Regions from separate parts of the Homo sapiens genome. Here region 2 is linked to region 1. Evidence: promoter capture Hi-C in 16 types of primary human blood cells and fetal thymus (Javierre and others, 2016). All regions are on one chromosome and are shown on one strand. Each heading gives the region's core, a stretch centred on a gene start or on the middle of the fragment in contact. The rest is flanking DNA. Distances are from core to core; before and after follow the strand shown. Region 1 holds the start of ARID4A (AT-rich interaction domain 4A). Region 2 holds the start of NIN (ninein).

The links. The method cuts DNA at HindIII sites, captures the fragments that hold promoters and counts their contacts. A CHiCAGO score of 5 or more calls a contact.
Region 2: a contact is called between the fragment with the promoter of NIN here and the fragment with the promoter of ARID4A in region 1, in 1 of 17 cell types (neutrophils). The highest score is 10.6, in neutrophils.

What each region holds. Positions count from the first base shown.
Region 1 is chr14:58,296,289-58,303,708 of GRCh38, reverse strand. It overlaps ARID4A (AT-rich interaction domain 4A), which reads right to left and starts at 5,154. Exons shown (of 24, transcript NM_002892.4): 1 at 5,009-5,154; 2 at 3,849-3,911; 3 at 2,019-2,129. The coding sequence starts at 3,854. PSMA3-AS1 (PSMA3 antisense RNA 1) reads left to right here and starts at 5,572. Exons shown (of 4, transcript NR_029435.1): 1 at 5,572-5,754. RefSeq lists a silencer at 4,065-4,584 and enhancers at 5,215-5,304, 5,415-5,464, 5,485-5,904, 5,201-5,924. The HindIII fragment of the contact is 5,118 bases long and covers 4,919-7,420 here.
Region 2 is chr14:50,826,119-50,832,979 of GRCh38, reverse strand. NIN (ninein) reads left to right here and starts at 1,818. Exons shown (of 31, transcript NM_020921.4): 1 at 1,818-1,974; 2 at 2,463-2,516. RefSeq lists silencers at 1,477-1,926, 1,977-2,256, 2,327-2,376, 2,397-2,516 and an enhancer at 3,087-3,136. The HindIII fragment of the contact is 8,436 bases long and covers 1-3,079 here.

The DNA.
Region 1 (7,420 bases), core at 3,905-6,404:
CAAGTTCCCAAGTAAGGCTGATGCTGCTGGTCTGGAGGGACCCTTTAGGAATCACTGCTCTAGTTCACTGATTCATTCAACAAATTTTGAGGGTCCACTATGTATCAGGCACTACTCTATGTGTTGGGCATAGAACAAGTCAGACGTTTCCTCCTTTTATGGTGCTTAATTCTGGTAGGAAAACATCAGATATATAAGTGAATAAAGCAAACTGCAATACAGCATGATCCAATACCAATGACAATAATTTTATGACTGGCACAGTAAAAAAAATCTGGAAGACCACATCAAATCTCTTTGGAGTCGTATCAAGGAGGACTTTCACAGTGTTCTATACCGCAGCAGGATGACTGTAGTTAACAATGCTATATCACATTGTTTCAAATGGCTAAGAGGAGGATACTGAATATTCCCAACACAAAGAAATGAAAAATGTTTGAGATGATAGATATGCAAATTATCTTGATTTAATCACCATACATTATATGTATCAAAACATGACTATGTAGCCCATGAATATGTAAAATTATTATTCATCAACTTAAATAAAATTTTTTAAGGAGGACTTCATTAACTATATGATATACCTCTATAATGTTAAAAATGTTTATAATAAGCATAGGAGGTATCTAAGTATAAAGTAACGAAGACTATTAAAAATATATTCATATAAGAAAATTACTGGCAGGAACCACCAAAAAAAAAAGTTATTTCAGAGTAAAAGCATCTTAAAAAAAAATTTTTTTTTTGAGACAGGGTCTTGCCCTGTCATCCGGCCTGGAGTGCAGTGGCACAATCACAGCTCACTGCAGCCTTGACCTCCCAGGCTCAAGCAATTCTCCCACCTCTGCCTCCAGAGTAGCTGGGACCACAGGTGCCTGCCACCACACCTGGCTAATACTTTTTATCTTTTTTTCTGGACAGACAAGATCTCACTATGTTGCCCAGGCTGGTCTTGAATTCCTTGGCTCAAGCAATCCCCCCATTCAGGCTTCCCAAGTGCTGGGACTGCAGGTGTGAGCCACTTCACACAGCCAAAAATATACATATATATTTTTAGTCTCCCTCTGTCACCCAGGCTGGAGTGCAGTGGTGTGATTTCGGCTCACTGCAATCTCCACCTCCTGGGTTCAAGCGATTCTCCTGCCTCAGCCTCCCGAGTAGCTGGGACTACAGGTGTGCACCACCATGCCAGGTTAATTTTTTTATTTTTTGGAGATGGAGTCTAGCTCTGTTACCCAGGCTGGAGTGCAACGGCATGATCTTGGCTCACTGCAACCTCCGCCTCCCGGGTTCAAGCAATTCTCCTGCCTCAGCCTCCTGAGCAGCTGGGATTACAGGTGCCTGCCACCACACCCAGCTAATTTTTGTATTTTTAGTAGAGACAGGATTTCACCATGTTGGTCAGGCTGGTCTCGAACTCCTGACCTCAGGTGATCCACCCACCTCAGCCTCCCAAAGTGCTGGGATTACAGGCGTGAGTCACCGCGCCGGGTCTAATTTTTGCAATTTTAGTAGAGACAGGGTTTCGCCACGTTGGCCAGGCTGCTCTTGAACTCCTGGCCTCAAGTGATCTGCCCACTTCGGCCTCCCAAAGTGCTTGGATTACAGGCATGAGACACTACGCCCAGTCACAAAATAAACTTTTTAAATGCTTTTTTACACTGTCTTGAAAACATAATTCCTGTTGTATTTGTATTGTCCTAAACACTAAAATTGTCTCTACCTGAACATTAAATGAGGGGAGAAAATAGATTACAGTCCAAGTATGCTACCACAAATAGTTAAGAGCCAAATGACAGGAAATATCATGAGCATGGTATTTTGATGGTAGCATTTTGGAATAATTTCTCCTTTTGAGTTTTTTATTTCTTTATTTTTGATGTGCTTTTCCTTTAAGTTTGGTATATAAAGGGTTTTCATATAATGACTCAATAAAATGCTGATTTGCAGTCTCTCTCTCCCCAAATTTCTTCAATCTAGAGTTAATAAAACTATTGCATAAAAACAAATATTACCTTAACTTTCACCAGCCTTTTCACAGTCTTAATCTTTGCCTCACAGAAGGCACCTCGGTACTTGGCACTGACATCGGTTCCCACTGTCAGGTAGGCAGGCTCATCTGCCGCCTGGTGAAAGGAACATAAAACTGTGAATGTCATTACTATGCCTCCCTACTCCAACCTCAAGTCTCATTAAAAGGTTGTGTTTGAAGCATTAAGAATATTAAAATGACTTGCTTATTAATATCATTGAAAATTTGAAAAATACCCTAAATACTTGATTAGCAACCTTTCATTTTATAGACTGATGTCCTGATATGATAAAATGTTTTAAAGTTGTAATTCAAAATTATCAGTGATTAATAATGTTTTGTCTCGATACAAAATTTTTCAAAAATTCTACTATTATATAAGCAGAAAGATAAGAAAAAAACAGAAAAAATATTTCATATTACACATATCATAAAACTAAGTTATTCATTTATAGCTTCCTGAAATTTTTCAAATTAAAAGAAATATTGCTACTAATATTAACACTAACAATACATAATTGTTTATTGACATAGCCACATAAAGGTAACATCTTTTCATAAGGAAAGTATCATTTGGAAAATTCATTTGCTAAAAGCTGCACTTGAAAGGTTTTAAGTCTGAATTCAGCCGATGAATGCAGATATGAACTGATGGCTCCAGACTTGTAGGTATACCTAGTTTACCACACTAATCTTCTTAGTATAAAAAAATAAGCGTTACTAAGAAACATCTACTTTCAGCAAATGGACACGACCAGAATGATACATAGAAAGATGTAAGAAATGTCACTCTACCACTCATTTTAATTTTTACAGTAACAGGATGATTGCTATCTCAATCTGTCATTTTACCTTTTTTTTTTTTTTCCGGAAGTTAAAGTGTATCCATACAAGTTCAACTTAACATTGTTAAGTGCAAAGTTAACAGTGTACACTTTGGAGATACGTTTTGAAGTAGAAAATGATTTTTTGTTTTCTAATAAGTTTTCCCAAGTAATATTAAAGAAGGTTAAATATGTCATTTACTTCGAGAAAATAGAAAACCACGAGAAAGTTTGGGAAAATGCTATATTTCAGAGCTTAATATGCTGAAACAGTAAATAAGACAGGAATTGGGTACCTTTTAAAGTAAGTGCATTTACAAAAAATACAAATTGAATAGGAATGCTTTTGGCAAACAAAAATCTGACCTGAAACATTCAATGGCCACAGCATTCAAGAACGCTATATGAGATCCTTTCCCTTTAACCATCCACATACTGATATTTGCAGTCATCCTCAGTAGAATATGTATCTTTTTAGTATATGTTTTAAAATACTTATTGGAAAGATTTAACTAAAACTATTATTATACTTCAACTTCAAATATTTTAGCCACATAAGTTCATTTTACACACAGAAGAAATGATACCTTCATTACTTAATCCACGTATTCTTTCTTTTAGAAAATCGCATTGGCACACGGGAAGAAAAAAAATTTACAAAAAATCCCCCAAAGAACCAAAGCAGGACAAAAGCTTTACTTCTGCAAAGGTTGCTGCCAACACAGGAAGTGTTTAAAAATACTATCCGAATGGACAACAATTGAAAGGCTGCACCAGCCTTTCCAAAGTACTGCTACAGAGAGGGCCTAAACTCCGCATTTAGACACACAGATCATTTTTCACCCATTCAACACATCCTCCTATGCCGAAACTGCTGATCAGTAGGAACATCAATTTTGAGTAGCAAAACAAATGACATTCCACGGCACTAGCCTTAGGATTGGCAGTGTTCAGGGCGCGAGGATCGGGGCAGAGTTGACTCCACTTACCTTCATTTTTGTTGGTGATCTGTGGGGTTCCAGCTCAGCGAGCTATCTTCGCAGTCGCTAGAACTATGGGGAGGGGGAAAGACAGGCACAGACATAATCAGTCAACTGCGGGGAGCGACCAAGGGAAAGAAAGTAAACAAACGCCAGCGGGGAGGGGCAGAATCCTCACCAGCCAAGGGACAAGACCCCTTACGAGGGCAGCCAGGACGCAGGAGCTGAGGGGGCAGCGAGAACCCCACGAGCGCCAAAGGGCAGCCCGTTCCGCCCCGGAGCTCGCCAGCGGCCCACCGCGCCCCCGCCTCGCTGGCCACTTTGACCCGGAATGCTCAACTCGGAGCTCCAGGACAGATAGCTCCGGAAAAGGCCAGAGCTCCCTTCGGGCTTCCCCAGGTCCCCCGCGGAGACGACCGCCGAGCCTCCGCTCCGCGGTCCCCCGGATACCCCGACTTCGGCCCGCGCCCCGCCTCCGCCGCTCGGCCCCCTCGGCCCGCCCCGGGCCCGCGGTGGCGGCAGCGGAGTGTCACGGCGCCATTGCTCTCCTTCCTTCGCTCTGCACCATGTCAGAAAGGAGAAGCGCTCCTTCACCCAAAGGGGCAGGGGCCGCGGCCTTCAGCCGGGAGCCGCCAGAGCCCCGGGGGACCCGCGTGGGGGAGGGGGCGGGGGGCGGAGGGGAGGAGGAGGGGAGGTGGCCCGGACAGGGTGTGGGAGGGGAGGGGAGCCGCACCGCAGCAGCCGCTGCCTCCTCCCAGCGCCCGCCTCAACTTTTTGTACAGCCCAGAGAGGTATCAGCTCGTAGCCCCTCGAGTCCTGCCACGGACTCCGCAGAGGTGGACGCGCCGCGGAGTTGGGGGACGGCTCCCCCAAGCAGCCCGCTCTTCACCGCGCGGAAGCAAACTTAGCGGCGCGGCCAGCCCCACAGCCATTTTCCCGGGAACCCGAGGAAGCGGACGAGGAGGCGGCTGCAACTGCGGCGGCGGTTCCTGCAGTTGCTGCCGCTGGTCAATGGCTGGCCCCTTCCCTTGCGCTCGCCGTGCCACTTGCCTAGCATCCCTCTCCCCACCTCCAAAGCTTCCAACTGCACCGGGACCTCGGGCAGCAGCAGCTGCTGCTACTGCCACTTCGTCCATTCAGTATCCCCGGATTCCCCTCTCCCCACCTACCAACTGCGGGTGAAGTGCGCGCTGTCAGCTCCAGAGTCCTCCTCCCCTCTGACCTCCGTGGGCCCCCGTCCGGGCAGCACCACTCCCAGCCGCGGCTGCAGTTCCTGCGCCGGGTTCCCCACTCGCCCCGATTTACTGCCACAATCCACCAAATAACAAGCTGTTGAGCAGACTCGCTTCTACACGAACTCCTATTGGCTGCTCATGACGCCGAAGAGCTTCGGATAGGACCTCGCTACCTGCCGTCCTCATTGGATGTAGCTGTGAAACTTCATGGATTGGTGAGAAAAACAGCAGGTAGGACATCTTCCACTTATGATTGGCTTTTTCCGAAAACCAACTTTATTGGAGAGTTGGTTATTGAGTAAGCAAGTCCTGAGAAATGATTGGTAGAGACGACTCCGGATGTGCTTGACTGGGCACTGATTGGTGAATTGAGGGGTCAGGAAGAGCAGTTCGACACGAGGATTGGCGGCGGAGTGTCCCATGGAAACGGAACCCAGAATTGCAGCCAGGGGCTTGCACGGGGGCGGGGCAGGGTCTGTCCAAGGCGCTTGCGCTAAACCAGCTTGTCGGCGCCATTTTGTCTCGGCAGCGGTGGCCGTAGCTCCATCGCATTTTATGTTTCTGGCGAGAAGGGAACGGAGTTTTCATCAGGTAGATTGGTTTTTGTGCGGCCGTCCTCCACCGTTTCCTCCAGGACAGCACCTAGTCGTGGCCGGAGGAGTCTCAGAGCTGTCAGAAAGGTCAGTTGGAGGCTATGGTTGTCCGATTGACTGGGGGGATGGCGCAGCCCTAGCGGCACCGGCACCGGAAGTGAAGGGGCCGCAGGCAGCCATGGTAAACTTCTCCCTGCGGCGGGGTGGGGAGAAGGGGCGGGATGAATGGGGGCGAGGCTTCCTCTCCCGCCGAGATAAAGAGGTGGAGGAGAGGCAAACGTCTTTCTTGGAGGTTCTCTTTCGGGTTTTCGAGAATGTGAGAGATTTTCTGGGTTCTGTCCCACTGCAATCTTTCCTGTCTTTGGAAGTGCATTTCGGGGACTTGCCATGTTCTCCACCTGATTGGCACCAGCTGTGGGAGCCTTCTTAGTTAAGACAGGGAAGAAGTGGTTCTTAGAAACATCCTGCATGGGTAGAGGTTTCCGCGTGCTCCTCACGGGATAAAGCTATGAGGAAACTGGAGAAAGCGCTGGCTTTCTGGATGCTGAGGAATTTACTTGCCAGCGCAGACGCTTCTTCTGTGACCTTAGACAAGGGTCTGTCACTCTGCACGAGGCTTATGCTACTTTTTGAAAGCAAACAGTGGTTTTGCAGGGACTGAAAACATCTTAGACAAAAGGACGTCCCCGATAAGATAGACGTTGATCTTTTTCTGTTAACATCTTATATTCTGTTAAACGAAACACACATTTTTAAATAGCGGAATTGGAGTATAAAATTGACTAGTTTTATAGAATGGAGTAATTTTTAAAATGTGACATATCGTCAGTAATCCACGTGGACTAAATTTTCTCAGTAAGAAAACAGCCGAGCAGAATCAGTTTTTTATTCGTAACAGTAATTTTGCTCAAAAGTATTCATAAAAACGTGAAATGCATGTTGGCATTTCTAGTGAGTGACCTAGTCACACTGGATAGATCCTAATAGTTACCCTCAATACCTCTGTTTTAAACCCTACTGCTATATTGGTGGCGCCCATAACTAGAAAATGATTGTGTGACTTAACAATTACTGGGTTTTTTGGCAGTTGTGCTGAAGAAAACAGAACATCTCAGTGATTACTGAGGTGAGTCATAAAGTCTAAAAATCCTTAGAATTGCGGGGGACTACCTGGAAAAACTTTCTATGGATTAGTAAAGAAATACCAGAATGGGAGGAAGGGTAGTTAAAAGATGTTTTGTTTGGTCAGATTCAAATGAGTCTGTATAATTAGCTTTCTAGTGTAATATTTTAGAATGAAATCCCAAAATTAGGACATCCTTATGGACTTGTTTACCCATTTACGTGGTTCTCATTTCTGGACTTTGATATACCTCATGTTTTTGTTATAAAACATTATGCGTATTTTTGTGATTTCCTCCCCCCCACCCGCCTATTTAAAAAGTTCTTATATAGAAAAGATCTTGTAAATGGGAGTGTTTAGGAGTGAGGCTTTTTTTTTTTTTTTTTTTTTTTTTTTGGAGACAGAGTCTCTCTCTGTCATCGAGGCTGGAGTGCAGTGGCGCAATCTCGTAGGAGTGAAGCAGTTTTTTAAAAGACCTTATAAAACAATATATTACTGAATTTTCTAGGGGGTAAGCATCCATAATTCTACGATCAAAGTTTAAACTGTTATTATTGAATCCAAATAATGCATGGACATTTGGAAATTATTAAAAAGCCCAAAGAAGAATACAAAAATGTCTTCCCTCCT
Region 2 (6,861 bases), core at 569-3,068, 7.5 Mb after region 1:
GGAGTGAATGCCACTTCCAATATCCCCTGACCCCCAGGAATCACTGTTTTAAACTAATGATCAATATCATCCTTAAGGATTCTTGCAGGTTAAAAAGCGATGCTTGGAGAGGTAACCAGTAGGATGAGGCTTCCATGGCAGAGATTAGGTGAAACAAGAAAGACACCTCTTCATTCTTACCTTCCAAGACTGTTGGCTGTTTTAGTGCCCAGTGAGCATTATTGTCTGTCTTACAAGATGACCTCTATGTAAGTATTCTGGTAACAGGTTAGCTATCCTCTTAATGAACTGCGTGTGTGTGTGTGTGTGTTGTATCATATTACTGGATGACTGAACAACCATGCATACAGTGTATGAGTGTGTGTTTGTGTGTGTATGTGTACTTATTCAAGACTGTTTAAAAAGGAGAGAGGAGCATAAATCTCTCTTATTCTGCAGGCACGCTTATATACCGTGTTGAAAGAAGAGAGCCTGGGCTTTTGAATAAGACTGAGATGTTTAAAATTTTTAAAAAAATTTTTTGAGGTAACTGTAAATTCGCTTGAAGTTGTAAGGAATAATAGAGAGATTCCCTATAGACGCTTCACTTAATTTTTCTCAATGGTAACATTTTGCATAACTGTAGAACAATATTACAATCAGTAAATGGACATTAGTGTAGTCCAAATGTCTTATTCAAATTTCATGAGTTTCACGTGCTCTCATTTGTGAGTGTATATTCAGTTCTATGCAATTTTGCCACATATGTGATCTGCTTTTGAATCTCAGTTCTGTGGAGTTCCTGCTGTGTGATCCTGAGGAAGCTCTTTGACTTCTGGGAGATCCATTTTCCTCATCTGCAAAATAATGTCTGCCTCCTAAGAGTGATGTGAGAATTAGATAAGATAATTTCTGTCGAGTTTCTAGCGCACTGGATTCTCAAGGAATGCTGGTTTCCTCTTGTCTGTTGCTTGCTTTCTCGGTAGAAAAGGAATCACCAGTTTCCTGCTAAAATAACCAGACTTGTGGGTTGTAATCCATCAGGCGGATCCTTCAAGGGCAACACATTTAACCCTGCAGCTCAAAAAGAACCATGGCCTGGACTTGGGATCCTATTTGACTGCAATGAGATCAGAAGTGTAGGGATGGGGGAGTGAGAACGCAGACTCTGGGGTAGTAGGTAGGAGGCGATTAATATCGAGCAACTGTTGGGCTGGGAACCACCAACTCCAAGGAGTTTTCGTCCTGTGTGGCTTGCGACCGAGGGTTAGCTTCACCCGGAGAAGGCTGCACAGGGGCGGGAGCCTGTGAGGACGTGGTGGGCAGGTGCGGAAGCCAGTGTAGACCCGGCAGGAGGGTCGCGCTCGCTCTACAGGGTTCCGAGTCACTTCTACAGCCCTTCTGCCTCCTGAACACCCTTTCCAATGTTGATGGCCAATCGACACCCGAGGGCTGGGAAATCACCCCCTTAAAGTCCCGCTTGCTGAAGGCGGGGGCCCTTCCTCTGCGCGAAGACGCTGCGGCCCGAGTGTCCGCGGTGCGGGTGAGTGTAGGCGTGTTGGGAAAGAAAGGGAGGCGGACAGGCAAGGGGCGAGGGTGGCAGCGCCAGCCCCAGCTCGGTGGCGACCTCGGGGCGCCAGCCTCCTACACCCGCACCCGGAGCCCCGGCGTTTCTAACTTCAGATCTCGGAGGCGGGCGCTCGGAGCGGGAGGGCGCGTCTGCGAGGGCTCAGGCGGCGCCGCCCGCTCCTCCCTCCGCTGCCTGAGCCGCGCGGGCCGCAGAGGAGGAGCCGCGCCGGGGCCGGCGTCGCCCTGACTCCTCCTCCCCGCGCGGGCCCGGCCCTTCCTCCCCGGCGTCCAGAGCTCCGGGTGGCCGCGGCCGAGCCGGGAGCCGAGCGCGCTGGGCGCGGCCGTCCCGCTGCCGCCGCCAAGCCCGGAGTGCGCCAGCGGCCATGGTTCCCGCGGCGGCGCCGGGCGCCTGAGCCCCGGGACGCAGTAAGTGGCGCAACCCCGGGGACCCGGACCCACGGCCTGGGGGTGCACGGAGGCCTCGCGCTGCCCCCGCGCCGTCGGCGAGGCCCTGAGAGCCCGGAGCGAACTGGGCACCGGATCACTCGGGGGCTTCCCATTTGGGGTCCGGGGCCAGCGGGGCGCAATCCCTGCGGGCCGGGAGGAAGCAGCGGCCGGGCGGGAGGACGAGGCGGGGACGGGGCTGCTTCGGAGGCGGGAGGAGGGGCCGGTCCCGGAGGCGCGGGCTGCGCGGGCGGGGGCGGGCCGGCGGGGGCGGGGAGGATGCGCGCTGCAGCCCGCGGCCCCCGAGAGCCGCGCTTTTGTAAGAGCTGGCCCCTTACATATGGAAATGACGCTCACGCGGGTCCCCATTCGCGTCCTTTTGAAGGACGCCCGCCCGGAACCGCTGCGCCGGCTGCGAAGTATTGTCCCGTTTCTCCAGCCCTAACAAAGCGTCCTCCTTCGCTTTGCAGAGCGCTGGAGGCGGGCTGCCGGCTGTGCGGGCGCTCCGGAGAGACCGACAGAAGGTAGGCGAGGGCGGCGGGGCCGGGGGAGCGCGCTGCCTGCCCACACAATGGGCTGTCTGAGGTTTCTGGTAGTGGCGATGGGCAGGCGAGTTGAGGACGCATCGCAGGTGGCCAGGGACTTGGGAGGCGCGCTTGTCCTGCGGCCGCACCTCCGCTTCCCCGCGCGGCAGCACCGCTGGGTTTGGGCACTTCCAGTACCCCCGACGCCCCGGCCGCCTGCCCGGAGCTGAAAGCCGCTTCTGTGCTTTGACCGAGAGCAGGCTTGAGTCCCCGAGGGAGCAGAAGGGGTGGTGGTTCCGTTGGCATGTGCCGCCCGTACAGCCTTGTGATTGAGACGCTGCAGAGGAAACTGCATGGGGAAATCCGAGGTGTTAGCCTGGGCTGTCTGAGTAGCGGAGAGCTGCTTGGAGCCCGGAAAGTGGAGATTTTTGGAGGTGTGCGGGGTCGATGCGCGTAAACAGTTTCCCAGTATAATGCCCAGGAGAAGGGGAAAGAACAAAATGACATTTGGTTATTGCCTAAAAGGTGTGGCATGGAGGTATGGAGTGTCGGGGAAGGAAGCTTCCAGCGGCTAGGCTTCTGTAGCTACCGAAGCGGCCCCTGACAGAAGGACACTAGGTGATGGGAACAGTCACTGCTTCCAGCTCTCGCTGCGAAGTTAAAAGAGATAGAGACGGAAAGAGGCAATTTCCCTAACCCCAGCCCTGACAACCCGAGGTGAAGGCACCAACAAAATGGGAGCTGGAAAGACTGCCCTACCATATATCATGTTTCCAGACAACTTGGATATTATGAGATCTGCTTTCTGCTCCTAACTAGGACAGATCCTCTCCTGGTGTTGAGGACTTCTAAGATGGGCTTGCCATACAGCTCAACTCCTGAATTTATTACATCGAAACAGATTGCGTAGTTGTCTTTTGTGACTGACATGGTAGCTTTGTAGGATGAGAATCCTGATAAAGTCCATCCTGACACATGAGGGAAGCCCCTGGAACCACGACGTTTCTCAGTTAGGTCCCCGTAAACACCATAACATACACACATGTTTGCATGATTCCGGAGGCTTGATGATCTAACAAGGAAAATTCCTTTTTTCTGTCAGTTTAATTTTACCTTGAGTCTTCTCTCGTGGTGAGCATATTATATAGGTGGCTGACCTGGAATATTGGTGGCTCTTGCTCCGGAGTTGAAGGGAGCTGAGGATTTCCAGAGTGTGTATAGGAGGAACATTACAGGCTGGCTGAAAAACGAGTTTGTGTGTTGTGGTCTCTTCAGCTATTGTCAGTGTCCTTTGGGAGGTGATGTGAACTGCCCGGGAATTTGTTTGCAGATTTGTTTATTTTCCCTGTTCTCTGGTGATTCTTTAGAGGGAAGCATTCTGCAGAGTGGGGAAAAGGTAGGATGAATGTTCCACAGGGTTGGACATCGGCAAAGTTATTACCAATACAGGGAAAGGCTTCACAGGGGGCAATAGAGAGGAAGCCATCATACAGTCTGCATTAAAATGTCAAGGATCAGTCATTTTAATAGGCACTTGCTCAGAATGGCGTGGGGTTCTTTTTTCTTATTTCTTTTTCATTTTAGATGTGTAATGACCCTTAATATCAAAAGATGTTAACTGTCACAGAGGGGGAGAATAGGGCTCCAGTGAATTCTGAACAGCCAATCTTAATGTAATAGGCAGTATTCTTATCATGAGTCAAATGTTCAAATAAATTGTTTTAAATGTCACTGCAAATGACTTTCTAAACTAACATTTCAACTATCTTGATGCTTCCATTTTATGTTGATAATGAAAATGCATTTTATCAGTCTTACATTGATAAAGGGTGGGCAAGCTTAGCCAGAGCATTTTAGAAGGATTTAAACAGCGTGAAGCCTTTTTAGAAGGCTTATTTTTATAGATGCCAATTCATTTGTAAGCCAATAAATTATCTGGTTTGAATTCTAGCTATTGAACTTGCATCTGTTGGGCAGGGGCTTATGGAGAGACTTAGTGAAGCTTGCAAAAAGATTTTTATCCTATTTATGAATAAAATAGAATTTTGAAAAGATTATGAGATTCTGAAAGTGAGCATCCTTGTTTGAAATTAGGACACTTCTTTATTGCAATTTAAGTCAGCAATTAACCATTTATTCAAGCTTTTGGATGGAAAAATTACAAAGCATCTATCTATACCCTAATTCTCACTTTAAAAACAAAGTTGGGAAAATATTGTTCATAGACGTGAGAAGAGAAGATCACCTTCACTTACACCTCAGGGTACCATACTCATAGCCTCAGGCATCCTAAATTAATGTGAGTCAATATGGCTTAAGAAGTGGAAGTTGTTATAAGCTTTCTCCTTTTTTTTTTTTTTTGTAACAAACATGCAGCTCTGTTTTCTGCTTCTGTAATTTACTTAGTAGTTGATTACAGGTTACTGAATGCACATTGTGCCAGGCTAATGGCGTTTTTTTGTTGTTGTGTTTTTTGTTTTTTGTTTTTTTTTTCCTGTAGCTAACCTGAGTTAACTACTTGATTGGGTAATCTACCAGTTATTAGGTTGAACAAAAGCATGGGTTTATTACATCCTTCAGGATAGTAAAATAATAAAGGTTGCTTACATTTTCGAATAAACGCTGATAGGATTCCCTTAGTTAAATATTATAGTGTAGTTGACAAAGGTTGTTATTTTTCTTTTTCTTTCTTTTTTTTTTTTTTTTTGATACGGAGTCTCTCGCTCTCTCCTGGGCTGGAGTGCAATGGCATGATCTCGGCACACTGCAACCTCTGCCTCCCAGGTTCAAGCAACACTTCTGCCTCAGCCTCCCGAGTAGCTGGGATTACAGGTGTGCGCCACCACACCTAGCTATTTTTTTTTTTTTTTTTGTATTTTTAGTAGAGACAGGGTTTCAACGTGTTAGCCAGGATGGCCCCGATCTCCTGACCTTGTGATCCACCTGCCTCAGCCTCCCAAAGTGCTATGATTACAGGCATGAGCCCCCGCTCCCAGCCATTTTTTCAAATGTATTTAATGTGACTTTCTTCCTGTGCATTTAAGCTTTCGTGTTATATTTTTGTATCATGATTTCATTCACAGTGATATTGTTGTGCTTTTGGTATCCAGCTAGAAGTGAGACACTGAGCAGAGAGGAGGCATTCTGACAGTAATCAGTTTGCTGCTAAGCAGCACTGGTTTTTGGCGGAAGTATTCTCCTATATAAACTCGTAAATGGCTGCAACTGCTTTTTCTATTGAGCTTTTACTAAACTTGAATTTATCCTTGTCACTCTTTCCTTTTATACTGAAAGTAGTCCAATATGGTGAGCCTGAAAATCTGTGCAGCCAATTAAAGTATTTGCAGAAAAGAAAGAAGAAAAAGAGCACTTTAATTTGATCATTGGCGTTATTAGGCTCCGACTTGCCAAATGGTGAAAGCTAAAGGCATAAATGGAGAGCTTTGCCCAAGTGGGGTTTGTCGGTGTTCATCACGTCAGCTGTAGAGTAAGTAAATGAGTCACTGGTGGTCACTGCCTAGTCTGTGGACCCCCAACAGCTATGTCTGCACACAGGTCCAAAAGCATCTATTATGATGCCCTCTCAAGGAAAGCAGCTGAGCCGAGAGGGGCATGCAGACATTCCGCAGAGCTCTTCAGCTGCTGAACCATCTGGATGCGAAATAAAAGGCCTGGGCTAGGGGCTCTAGCATTGTGCATATTTATTACTTGGTTTTCACTTGCCAGACTTTGTCCCCTTTTCACTCGCCAGACTTTGTCCCTTTTTCACTCCCTCTGGCCCAGAACAGACGTCCCCTTTAGCTGGGGTGTCATTGTTACAAGCTCCTTTCTGTACCTTGGTTGAACACTGAAAAGTTCATAAATCCACATGTCCACTCATGATTCTAGCCACACCTCCACCTATTTAGTTTGCAGTCCTATTTGGCACTGTGATTTCATCAGCTGGGGTAATGAACACCACTGTCAGAGTCGGCAGCATTTTGGCAGCCTTATTTTGAGTTATTTGGAAGGAAAATGCTCAGAATAATTGTCATTATGGGTGGTTATTGAGTGGTAAATGTTTTGATTAATGGTTCTGTGCATCTGCTTCTTATTTAACCATCCCCAGTTAGAACTCCAAAATATTGCCCATACTGGTTCTTTCATTCCGAAAGAGTCATAAAGCCTTCTGACAATTTGACTGGAAAGGTAGATGGTGAGGAGAGGCCCAGGTTTATTATGGCAGGCTTCGTAACACTGGAGCTCTTCTTTGCAATTTGAAGTAGAATTTCTCGCTCAAAATGTAACTTTCTTAATCTCTGAGTAAGACTCCTGCCTCTGGTGGGTACCAGTTAGGATCTGACCC